Regions from separate parts of the Homo sapiens genome. Here regions 1 and 3 are each linked to region 2. The links are contacts of gene promoters, found by promoter capture Hi-C in blood cells and fetal thymus (Javierre and others, 2016). All regions are on one chromosome and are shown on one strand. Each heading gives the region's core, a stretch centred on a gene start or on the middle of the fragment in contact. The rest is flanking DNA. Distances are from core to core; before and after follow the strand shown. Region 1 overlaps NLRC5 (NLR family CARD domain containing 5). Region 2 holds the start of ARL2BP (ARF like GTPase 2 binding protein). Region 3 overlaps CCL17 (C-C motif chemokine ligand 17).

Evidence for each region. The method cuts DNA at HindIII sites, captures the fragments that hold promoters and counts their contacts. A CHiCAGO score of 5 or more calls a contact.
Region 1: a contact is called between a fragment that was not itself captured here and the fragment with the promoter of ARL2BP in region 2, in 1 of 17 cell types (endothelial precursors). The highest score is 5.1, in endothelial precursors.
Region 3: a contact is called between a fragment that was not itself captured here and the fragment with the promoter of ARL2BP in region 2, in 8 of 17 cell types (endothelial precursors, naive CD4 T cells, non-activated CD4 T cells and 5 more). The highest score is 12.8, in endothelial precursors.

What each region holds. Positions count from the first base shown.
Region 1 is chr16:57,074,719-57,078,079 of GRCh38, reverse strand. NLRC5 (NLR family CARD domain containing 5) reads right to left here. Exons shown (of 49, transcript NM_001384950.1): 40 at 1,178-1,261; 41 at 701-784; 42 at 278-361; 43 at 60-137. Among named protein-coding and RNA genes, the nearest start is that of CPNE2, 16 kb to the left of the region's middle. The HindIII fragment of the contact is 964 bases long and covers 1,575-2,538 here.
Region 2 is chr16:57,243,693-57,246,759 of GRCh38, reverse strand. It overlaps ARL2BP (ARF like GTPase 2 binding protein), which reads right to left and starts at 1,501. Exons shown (of 6, transcript NM_012106.4): 1 at 1,355-1,501; 2 at 619-680. The coding sequence starts at 1,392. It overlaps LOC124903697 (a long non-coding RNA gene), which reads left to right. Exons shown (of 2, transcript XR_007065082.1): 2 at 1-945. RefSeq lists silencers at 1,103-1,312, 1,403-1,782. The HindIII fragment of the contact is 5,456 bases long and covers 616-3,067 here.
Region 3 is chr16:57,415,638-57,418,840 of GRCh38, reverse strand. CCL17 (C-C motif chemokine ligand 17) reads right to left here. Exons shown (of 4, transcript NM_002987.3): 4 at 2,778-3,076. The coding sequence ends at 2,980. Among named protein-coding and RNA genes, the nearest start is that of CCL17, 12 kb to the right of the region's middle. RefSeq lists enhancers at 662-1,176, 1,693-2,208, 2,209-2,724. The HindIII fragment of the contact is 1,450 bases long and covers 914-2,363 here.

The DNA of each region.
Region 1 (3,361 bases), core at 807-3,306, 170 kb after region 2:
TGCTCCCGAGGACCCTCCTCCCCACCAGCCCTGCATGGTATGGGCAGGGGGCCACTCACTGTAGGACCCTCAGGTGCTGGGGCAGCTCCTGAGCCAGCCCCAGGGCTGTGGGATCCCCCAGGGCATTGCAGCCAAGCCTGGAAGAGGAGAGGAATGAGCATTGAGTACTGGGCCTGCCCACTCGGGACCCCCGCCCTGCCCTGTGCCCACTGCGGGAGAGGAGGCCAGGTGGACCTGGGGGGCACAGAGGGCAGAGGCCACCTGGGCAGACACTCACATCAACTCCTCCAGGCGCCTGCAAAGAACGAGAGACTCTGCCAACTGCACTCCCCCGGCTGAGCTGATGCTATTCCCTGAGAGGCTGTGGGAGGGGGGCAGCCATCAGGTCCTCTGATGCCCCCTCTCCCCGACACCCCAGCACATCTGCTGGGTCTGCCACCCCTGCTTCAGGGGGCCTAAGAGACAACCCCCCGACACCACACACCTACCCAGACAATGAGGCAGAAAGGCCCAGAGAAGAGCAGGGGCTGGGGTGGCTTAAGGTCCCGCAGTGAGGGCCAGGAGGTCACCGAGCCCCACTGCCTGGACACTGAGGTTGGCGCAGGGGAGATTTTACCATGCTGGCCTCAGCTAGGGGCCAGTATCTCCTAGGACCATCGTGTGACCCCTGTGGCCCTCCTCTGTAGGGCTGGCTACTCACTCTATCTTCCTGAGCTCTGGCAGCCCAGGCAGGATGGTAGCTAAGTGCTGGACACCAGCGTCTCCAATCTGGTTGTGGCTCAAGCTTGGGGGAGAAAACAGCTTCATCAGCCTTCTGCCGTCTCATCTTGTCCACACCCCACTCCCAGAAAAAGAAGGGGAGGCTGAAGTCCCAGGAAGGGCCTCGACTCACACAGAGAGCCCCATCACCCCATGTTGAGTGACAGCTCCTAACCCTTGGCTTCTGTTTAGGATGTTCTCCCCATTGTCTGACCTAAATCCCTCTTGCTACAATTGACACTCTTACATCCTGTCTTTGGGTCCCCCAAGCTTCTAGGCCCCAGGTTGTTTACACAGTGTAGAAGTGGGTGAAGGAGATGAGATGAAGAAGCAAAGGGCGTGCTCAGGTAGCCCCTTGCCCTTGTCATCTTTCCCGGCCAAAATTGTCCTGGGTCTGGGGGCAGAATGGGCAACTCACTCCAGCTCCTCTAGGCTGGTGGCAGCCCTGAGAGCCTCAGAAAGGTGGCAGCAACCGACATCACCGATACTGTTCCTGTTCAGTCTGGAAAAGCAGGGAATAGACCAAGAGGCTTTCAGGAGCTTAAAGGCCTTTGCAGGTGCTGTGCTAAGAACTCTACAGTTTGCAAAGCCTTACACGCCCAGGAATTCATATGCTGGTAGCAAAACTTCTGGGGGTCATGGCAGGTGGGGAGTGGTGAGCAAGGTGGGAATTATTGTCCCCAGTGTCCAGGTGAGAAAACTTGAGAGCCAGCAGTGAGCTGTGACTGGCCAGAGACTTAGGGACTTGCAGGCTGGGTGGAAACAAATCCAGAGCCCCTGGCCCAGGAGGAGTCTCTACATTTCTTTGCCAAGCTTCACCTCAGCCTCTGTGTCAGGGATCTCCGGGCTGGCCCGGCTGAATGCCACTTTCACGTGGGATTCTCTGATTCACGCAGATCAGTTCTCAGGGGCATATGTGTTCTCATCCATGCAAATGGTAGGTTTTTCCTTAAACCCAGGGTATTGTCTTTACTGAGCCCTGACCTTGCTCTGCCTGGGTAGGAAAAAACAATAAATAGCTGAGGCAAATGGTCTTAGCCCCTTGGGAAGTATTTGTTTGCATGTTGTTTTTACTTTCTTTTATTTTGCAAATTAAATTTTAATGGGGCTGGGAGCAGTGGTTCACACCTGTATTCCCAGCACTTTCGGAGTCTAGGCAGGTGGATCATTTGAGGTCAGGGGTTCGAGACCAGCCCGGCCAACATGGTGAAACCCCATTTGTACTAAAAATATACAAAAATTATCTGGGCGTGGTGGTGCATACCTGTAATCCCAGCTACTTGGGCGGCTGAGGCACCAGAATCGCTTGAACCCAGGAGGCAGAGGTTGCAGTGAAGTGAGATCATGCCACTGCACTCCAGCCTGGGCGACAGAGTGAGACTGTGTCTCAAAAAATAAAAATAAAATAGAAATAAATAAATACACTTTAATGGATCACCTTTCAGTAAATTAATTTTGGGTGAAATGGTCCAATATGATATAACCTCCTGGAACTCTCTAACCTCATTTCCTACCTACTCTGCTCTGCCCGAGGTAGGGGGTAGGAGGTGTACTTGGATATAAACAAAGCAATGCTTTGTGTCACTGCTTGGATTTGTTTTTAGTCACAAGATTTCATGTTTTGAAAAATCACATTGAAAGTAAGTGTCATGTTTATTTATCCTAGCAGCAGGGAGTGAAATCACAAAGGGAGTGTAGGAAGGCCACCCCATCTGAGTCTAGACCCACACTACTCAAAGTGCTGACCGTGGCCCCCAGAATTGATACCACCCGGAAGCTTGTTAGAAAATGCAGAGTCTGAAGCCAGGCGTGGTGGCTCACGCCTGTAATCCCAGCACTTTGGGAGGCCGAGGTGGGCAGATCACCTGAGGTTGGACGTTCAAGACCAGCCTGACCAACATGGAGAAACACTGTCTCTACCAAAAATACAAAAATTAGCCGGGCGTGGTGGCACATGCCTATAATCCCGGCTACTCGGGAGGCTGAGGCAGGAGAATCGCTTGAACCCGGGAGGCGGAGGTTGCAGTGAGCTGAGATTGTGCCATTGCACTCCAGCCTGGGCAACAAGAGCGAAACTCTGTCTCAAAAACAAACAAACAAAAAAAGAAATGCTAAGTTTGGGTGCAACGCCTTAGGCCTGTAGTCCCAGCTGCTTAGGAGGGTGAGGCAGGAGGATCACGTTCGCCCAGGAGTTTGAGGCTGCAGTGCAACACGATTGCACCTGTGCATTGCCACTGCACTCCAGCCTGGGCCACACAGTGAGGCCCCAACTCAAAAAAAAAAAAAAAAAAAAAAAAAAAAAAAAAAAAAAAAAAGCACAGTCTAGGCAGAATTCCAGACCTGGGGAATCAGAATGAGCATTTTAACAAGAGCCCAGGGTGAACTGTGTGTGTGCCTCAAGGGTTGTTCTACGACGTGGGCCTAAGCCCTTTAGGCCACTTTTGTAACCAGGAGGAAGCTGATGGCATTAGAAGGCAAGAGCAGTGGGCACCCACCTGGGAGGGCACAGGGATGGGCCTGGGAGGGATCCGCAAAGGATCCCCTGGGAGGTGGCCTCAGTGCTTCCCTGGATGTGGTCCCAACTGAGTGGGAAGTGTTTCTT
Region 2 (3,067 bases), core at 252-2,751:
CGATCTCGGATCACTGCAAGCTCCACCTCCCAGGTTCACGCCATTTTCCTGCCTCAGCCTCCTGAGTAGCTGGGACTACAGGCGCCCGCTACCACGCCCGGCTAATTTTTTTTGTATTTTTAGTAGAGACAGGGTTTCACCGTGTTAGCCAGGATGGTCTTGATCTCCTGACCTCGTGATCCGCCCACCTCGGCCTCCCAAAGTGCTGGGATTACAGGCGTTAGCCACCGCACCTGGCCTGGTTTTATGTGTTTTATGGCATGAAAATGTTAAAACTCAAAACTATCTAAAATTGAAATTGCTCTTACCCTACATAAGAAATAGAGTAGATCATTATTTCCTATAGTTTTGCGAAGAACGCCACACTGCTGGTGCCCTATTAGCCTGAGTCAGTCCCTTCCAGCCTCTGAATCTATGCTTATTAGATGTTTTCAGGAGTACTGGGCTGTTTGTTTCTAAGACAAACTGCAGTAAGCCTTTACTTAAGTATTACATTGTGCTACATTAAAAATTGCAGGCAGCTTGATGTTTTCTCTTTTTAAAATTAACTCTCCAAATTGATTTCAATGTCCTTAAAGAAACAAGCAAGTCCTTAAAAACAGTATCTTAAAAGCTTACCCATGATAATGTCCTCTAAATATCCAACCACAGCATCAAATTCTGCATCAGAGGCGGAGGAGCTGAAAAACATGCCTGGATTAGGTGCTATTTCAAATAATGCATTAAAAAAATGTTTTTAGTATGGACGTTTTCAAACATGCACAAGAGAAAAAAGAGTAGCAAAACGAACTTCCCATCACCCATCTTCAACGATTAAGAATGACTGACTGATCTAGTAAGTCCAAACAGAAGAAAACACACTCGGCACGTTTGTGACATGAACGTTCAATGTCATGACTCCACTTTAATAAAAACTTGTTCTCCAGGCTCTTAGCTATCACCCCATACCTGTCTGCTTGTGAGCATGAACCCGGCACGGGCGAAACACCTGCCGGGGGGGGTCATTTGGTCAGGAGTCCGGGAGGCGGGGGCCAGGGAGGGGTGGAGGGGCCTCGGGCGCTCAACCCCTCCAGGCTTTGCTGACAGCTGAGGGTTGGCGGCTGGGGATTGTGATGGAGGCGCTGATCAACGGTGACACCCGCCTCGCACTCCTGTCCTGCGGGGCCTGAAACCTGCAGCCTTAGTACTCTACAAAAGGAAGGCCTGGAGCTGGGACGGCGCCTTGGCGGCCCCCACCCTGCCCGGCCCGGCCCGGCCCGGCCCCTAAGGACACCTGTTTTATAGGGTCAGGCCCCGGGGCGAACGCCCGCTGCCTCCGGCCCCAAGTCGCCTGCGCCCTGGAGGAGCTACTCACAAAGACAGCGCAAAGCTCTCTCCTTCTAAGGCGTCCATCGCAGTCGCCCCGAGTAGGCTCCAACCCCGCCCGCGGCCCAACTCGCATGCAGGGCGCGGCCGCCCGGCGGGGTTAAGGCCTCTCAGCCAAGGCCGCGGCCAGCTCACTGCCAGGTCGGGTCAGCGCCTGCGCGCCAGGTCCGGCCTTGGATACCCTCTGCCGCCACGCGTCGGTCCGGCCTCTACGCCCGCCTGGCCCTCTGCGCGCGCCGCCGACGCCGCAGGTCCGGGCCTCGGTGACTGCCGGAGGGGCGCGGCGCCCCGCCTCCTGTCACCATGGCCACCGCAACCCCTTCCACCGCCTCACGGCCGGCCGGCATCCAATCACAGGCGAGCGTTACCGATGCCGGGGCGGGGCAAGACAGGGAGAGGAAGTCCCGGAAGGGAGTGCGGAGGGATGCGGCGCTTCGGCGAGCACCCGTTGTGTGGGAACTCCGTCTCAAGTCGCCCCCATTGTACGGATGAAGGAATCGAAGCCACGAGCCAGAATTTCCTCACTCGCAACTCGAGAATAAATTGCGCCTCCCTGAGTGTGGAGGATTAAATAAGTAGTTTAAGGCGTGTTTAAAGAGCGCTTGTAAGTTGCCAAGTCGCTGGAGAGCCAGTCCCTTATCCCTTGAACCAGGTGATGCTGACGTCTGATTTCAAGACAGTTCCTACCCCTCGTGGAAGGAAAGCCCCATCGCAAGAAGTCGATGTCCTGTAATTTACGTTATAATCTTCGCATCATAAAGATTACTCGGCAGTAATTGGTTTCTTGACTAATTATACAAGATGAGAATTGAAGAACTATTTTGAGCCACGCAATCAGGAATCAGATACCTTTCAGGAAAAGGCCTCTTCAAAACTGCCAAACTTTGAAAAAGGATTCGTTTGAGCTGATTTCTCTTGATTGGACAACTAAGCATTGTGTCTCTTTAGTTGCATGATACCTTATGGCCAAAGTGTGGTATATGACTAGAGGAACTAGAGGGGTTTAAGGTATGAACTGAGGGTCAGGTGGCCAGTCAGAATGGGTTAGCAGACATTTTTTATTTTTTTGAGACGGAGTCTTGCTCTGTCGCCCAGGCTGGAGGGCAGTGGCACGATCTCGGCTGGCTACAACTTCCGCCTCCCAGGTTCAAGCGATTCTCGTGCCTCAGCCTCCCGAGTAGCTAGGATTACAAGTACGTGCCACTATGCCCGGCTATTTTTGAATTTTTAGTAGAGACAGGGTTTCACCATGTTGGCCAGGCTGGTCTCGAACTCCTGACCTCAGATGATCCACCTACCTTGGCCTCCAAAAGGGCTAGGATTACAGGTGTGAGCCACCACAACCGGCCTAGCAGACATCTTTGAATGGACTTAAAATAGATATCCGTGGGATCTGAAACAAAGATGGTTACAAAGACACAGTCGGGTGTGACAGCTGTGACCAAGGTGACATAAATTATTACTAATTTATTTATTTATTGAGATGGAGTTTCGCTCTTACTGCCCGGGCTAGAGTGCAATGGTGCAATCTCGGCTCAACACAACCTCCGCCTACCGGTTTCAAGCGATTCTCCTGCCTCAGCCTCCCGCGTAGCTAGGATTACAGTCATGCGCCACCATGCCTAATTTTTTTGTGTTTTTAGTAGAGATGGGGTTTCTCTATGTTGGTCAGGCTGGTCTTGAACTCCCGACCTCAGGTGAT
Region 3 (3,203 bases), core at 389-2,888, 170 kb before region 2:
AAATGAGTCTGGTACTGTTTCCTGACCCAAATACCTGCTCAGTGAGTTTATTGGGTAAATCACCCAAGCAGCTCCAATTACAAGGGGTAGAGTGTGGTCAGGATTAGACTAAGGTGAGCGTTGGGTGCAGGTGGAGGACACACAGCTGAGGTTGAGTAGGCTGGCTGTGGCAGAGGCAGCACTGAGTTGAGCGTTGAAGAGAAACTGGATTTCAGAATAGTGGCTCACGCCTGTAATCCCAGCACTTTGGGAGGCCGAGGTGGGCGGATCACTTGAGCTCGGGAGTTCGAGACCAGCCTGGCCAACATGGTAAAACCCCATCTCTTCTAAAAATACAAAAATCAGCCAGGTGTGGTGGTGCACACCTATAATCCCAGCTACTCAGGAAGCTGAGGCATGAGAATCGCTTGAACCCGGGAGACAGAGGTTGCAGTGAGCCAGATCGCACCACTGCACTCCAGCCTGGGTCACAGAGCCAGACTCCATCTGAAAAAAAAAAAAAAAAAAAAAAAAAAAAAAAGCAGGGGTGGGGTGGGGGAGGAGGGGAGGCACCTACCAGGTGAAAGAAACAACATAAGTCTGGCGCTTCTCCTCACTTTTCACCCCGAACCTGCCCATTCCTCTTTTTCCCTCCCAGCAGTCTTTCCAATCACAGCAGTCTCCAGGTCACACCTCCTTAAAATGCCCTAAGGTCACATGGCAGTTGTCCTATCTCTTGCATCTCACCATCCCCCAGCTTGCACCGGATGCTGCTCGTGAATACTTGGATTCTGAATCCTGCGTTTTGTTGCCAGTCCTGGATCCACCTCTTCCCTGCCTTTATGCAATGCCCCACCCTATCTCACTTTCAGGGACCCTCTGGCAACTCCCCACCTCCTCACAGGCCTCCACGGCAGCTCTACTTACCTAAGCTTACAATATGGGCTTCTGAGTAGGATTTCAGTAGGGAAAAAACAAAAAAGGTCTTGCTTTTTTAAACGAAGTTTGCTGGAGGCCAGGCGCGGTGGCTCATGCCTGTAATCTCAGCACTTTGGGAGGCCAAGGCGAGTGGATCACATAAGGCCAAGAGTTCAAGACCAGCCTGACCGACATGGTGAAACCCCGTCTCTACTAAAAATACAAAAAAATTAGCCGGGTGTGGTGGCGGGCGCCTGTAATCCCAGCTACTTAGGAGGCTGAAGCAGGAGAATCGCTTGAACCTGGGAGGCGGAGGTTGCAGTGAGCTGAGATGGAGCCATTGCACTCTGAGAGTCCTTCCAGCTCTCGCCTGCAGGGTGCAGGGGTCCAGACCCCGGCTGTCTCTGGCCTTTGCTGTCTTAGGAGCTTCTCCTTGCCTCCCTCCCTTTTTAGATCATCCTTCCTCCTCCCGGTGGATTCAGAGGACAATTTTCCATGAAGAACTCAGACTGGGCCATCCCCAGGACTCTGGGTCTTAGGCAGTTGTTCAAGTGATCCTCCTCGGCATCAGGACAGGAGATGAGCCCACTTGCGGCTGAAGAGACCCTAGAGTCACAGGCAAGCCAGTTCACTGGTTTTATCAACCTCGTTATCGCTGTGCCCGTACTGGAAAGTAAACTTGGGTTCTATCATCTGCCCTGCAATGAGCTGACTGGCCACAAGGGAGCAGCAGGAGGCAACAGCCGGGCCTGGAAATTGCCCTTCTAACCGCAGCCCCACCAAACAATGCCCGCCACAAGGTCCTCGGAAGAGAAGGACCCGCGCCCCTGCCGCCAAACTGTGTTCAGAGAGAAGCCACGGCCCCATCGCTGGTTGGGAGAGTGAGAGAGAACTAGAAGGCTTAGGCCCCGACTCCTCTGTGCTCAGCCCTTAGCTGGGCATGGGCAGAGGGGTCTGGGGGTGGGGTGTCCTGAGCCTCTAGTCCCCATCTTTTTTAGCACAGGGGTGTGGGGTCCCCGGAGTGGCTCACGGAGCTCTCAACCTAATGGAGGAGCTGGGACTGCCACACACGCGCACGCACACACACACACACACACACACACACACACACACAATGAGAGAACCACGCGGAGCAGGGGTCGGCTTCAGGGCAGTCCCTAAGAGCTGGGGGAGCGAGTCGGTGGGCGGTTGTGCTGGGCCGGCTTCCGGCAGGCTGGGCGCAGCCAGGGCCGGGTGGGGATCACACTTCAGTCAGGAGGAACCACAGGGCCGCGTGGCGCCCGCCTGCCTGAGCCTGGAGTGGGCTAGGAAGTCAGCCGCAGGCAGAGGGCCCAGGACCCACAGAGCCCCCTCGCCCTGGAGCTGGGGTCTGGAGTTTGAGCGGGGAGAGGGAGCCAGGGCCAGGAGGAGCCGGGCCAGCTGGACTGCAGTGAGTGCAGGGGAAGGCAAGGACAGGGCTACAAGCTTCCCCCACCCTTGGCCAGGGGGCTCCCCAGCACTGGGCAGAGCTGTGGCCTGCGGCAGGGTCCTGGCCAGTCTGTGAAATTGACTCCAGCACCTCGGGGAAGTTTGTCCTCAGCTCCACGTGGGGCAAGAACAGGAGCTGGGCTGGGGGGAAACCGGGAGACCTTGGGGTGGGTAGGGAGAGAATCCAGCGGCCGCCTCCCAGGACCCCGCCAACCCCGCCCCTGCCCGGGCCTCTCACCAGGGCCTCCCCTCACTGGTGCGTGGTCTGCGGAAGCCACGTGCCCTTCTCAGCCTCAGTTTCCCTTTCCGACCTGCACAGGGCAGGACCAGAGGTTCTCTGAGAACCCTCCCAGAGTGACAGGCCGGAGTGGAAGCGCATCTTGCGCTGTGGGGACAGACACGCTGACACAGACTGAGGATAAAGACTTTAATCTGGGCCCTTTGTGCCCATGGCTCCAGTTCAGACAAGGGGATGGGATCTCCCTCACTGTGGCTCTTCTTCGTCCCTGGAAGGCCTCCCCTGGACCCAGGCGCTCAGGGTGGGGGCGGTGAACACCAACGGTGGAGGTCCCAGGTAGTCCCGGGAGACAGTCAGGAGTCTGGGGTGAGGAGGCTTCAAGACCTCTCAAGGCTTTGCAGGTATTTAACTGCATTCTTCACTCTCTTGTTGTTGGGGTCCGAACAGATGGCCCTGCCCTGCACAGTTACAAAACTACACAGAAGGAGGACGTTACCAGGAGTGGCAGGGGGGGAAGGGCCCCCAGAGTCCCTGGGACGGCCCGCCCTGTGCTGACCAGGATTCCAAGGCTCCAAGAGGGGCAGGAAGTTGCTGCTGTCAC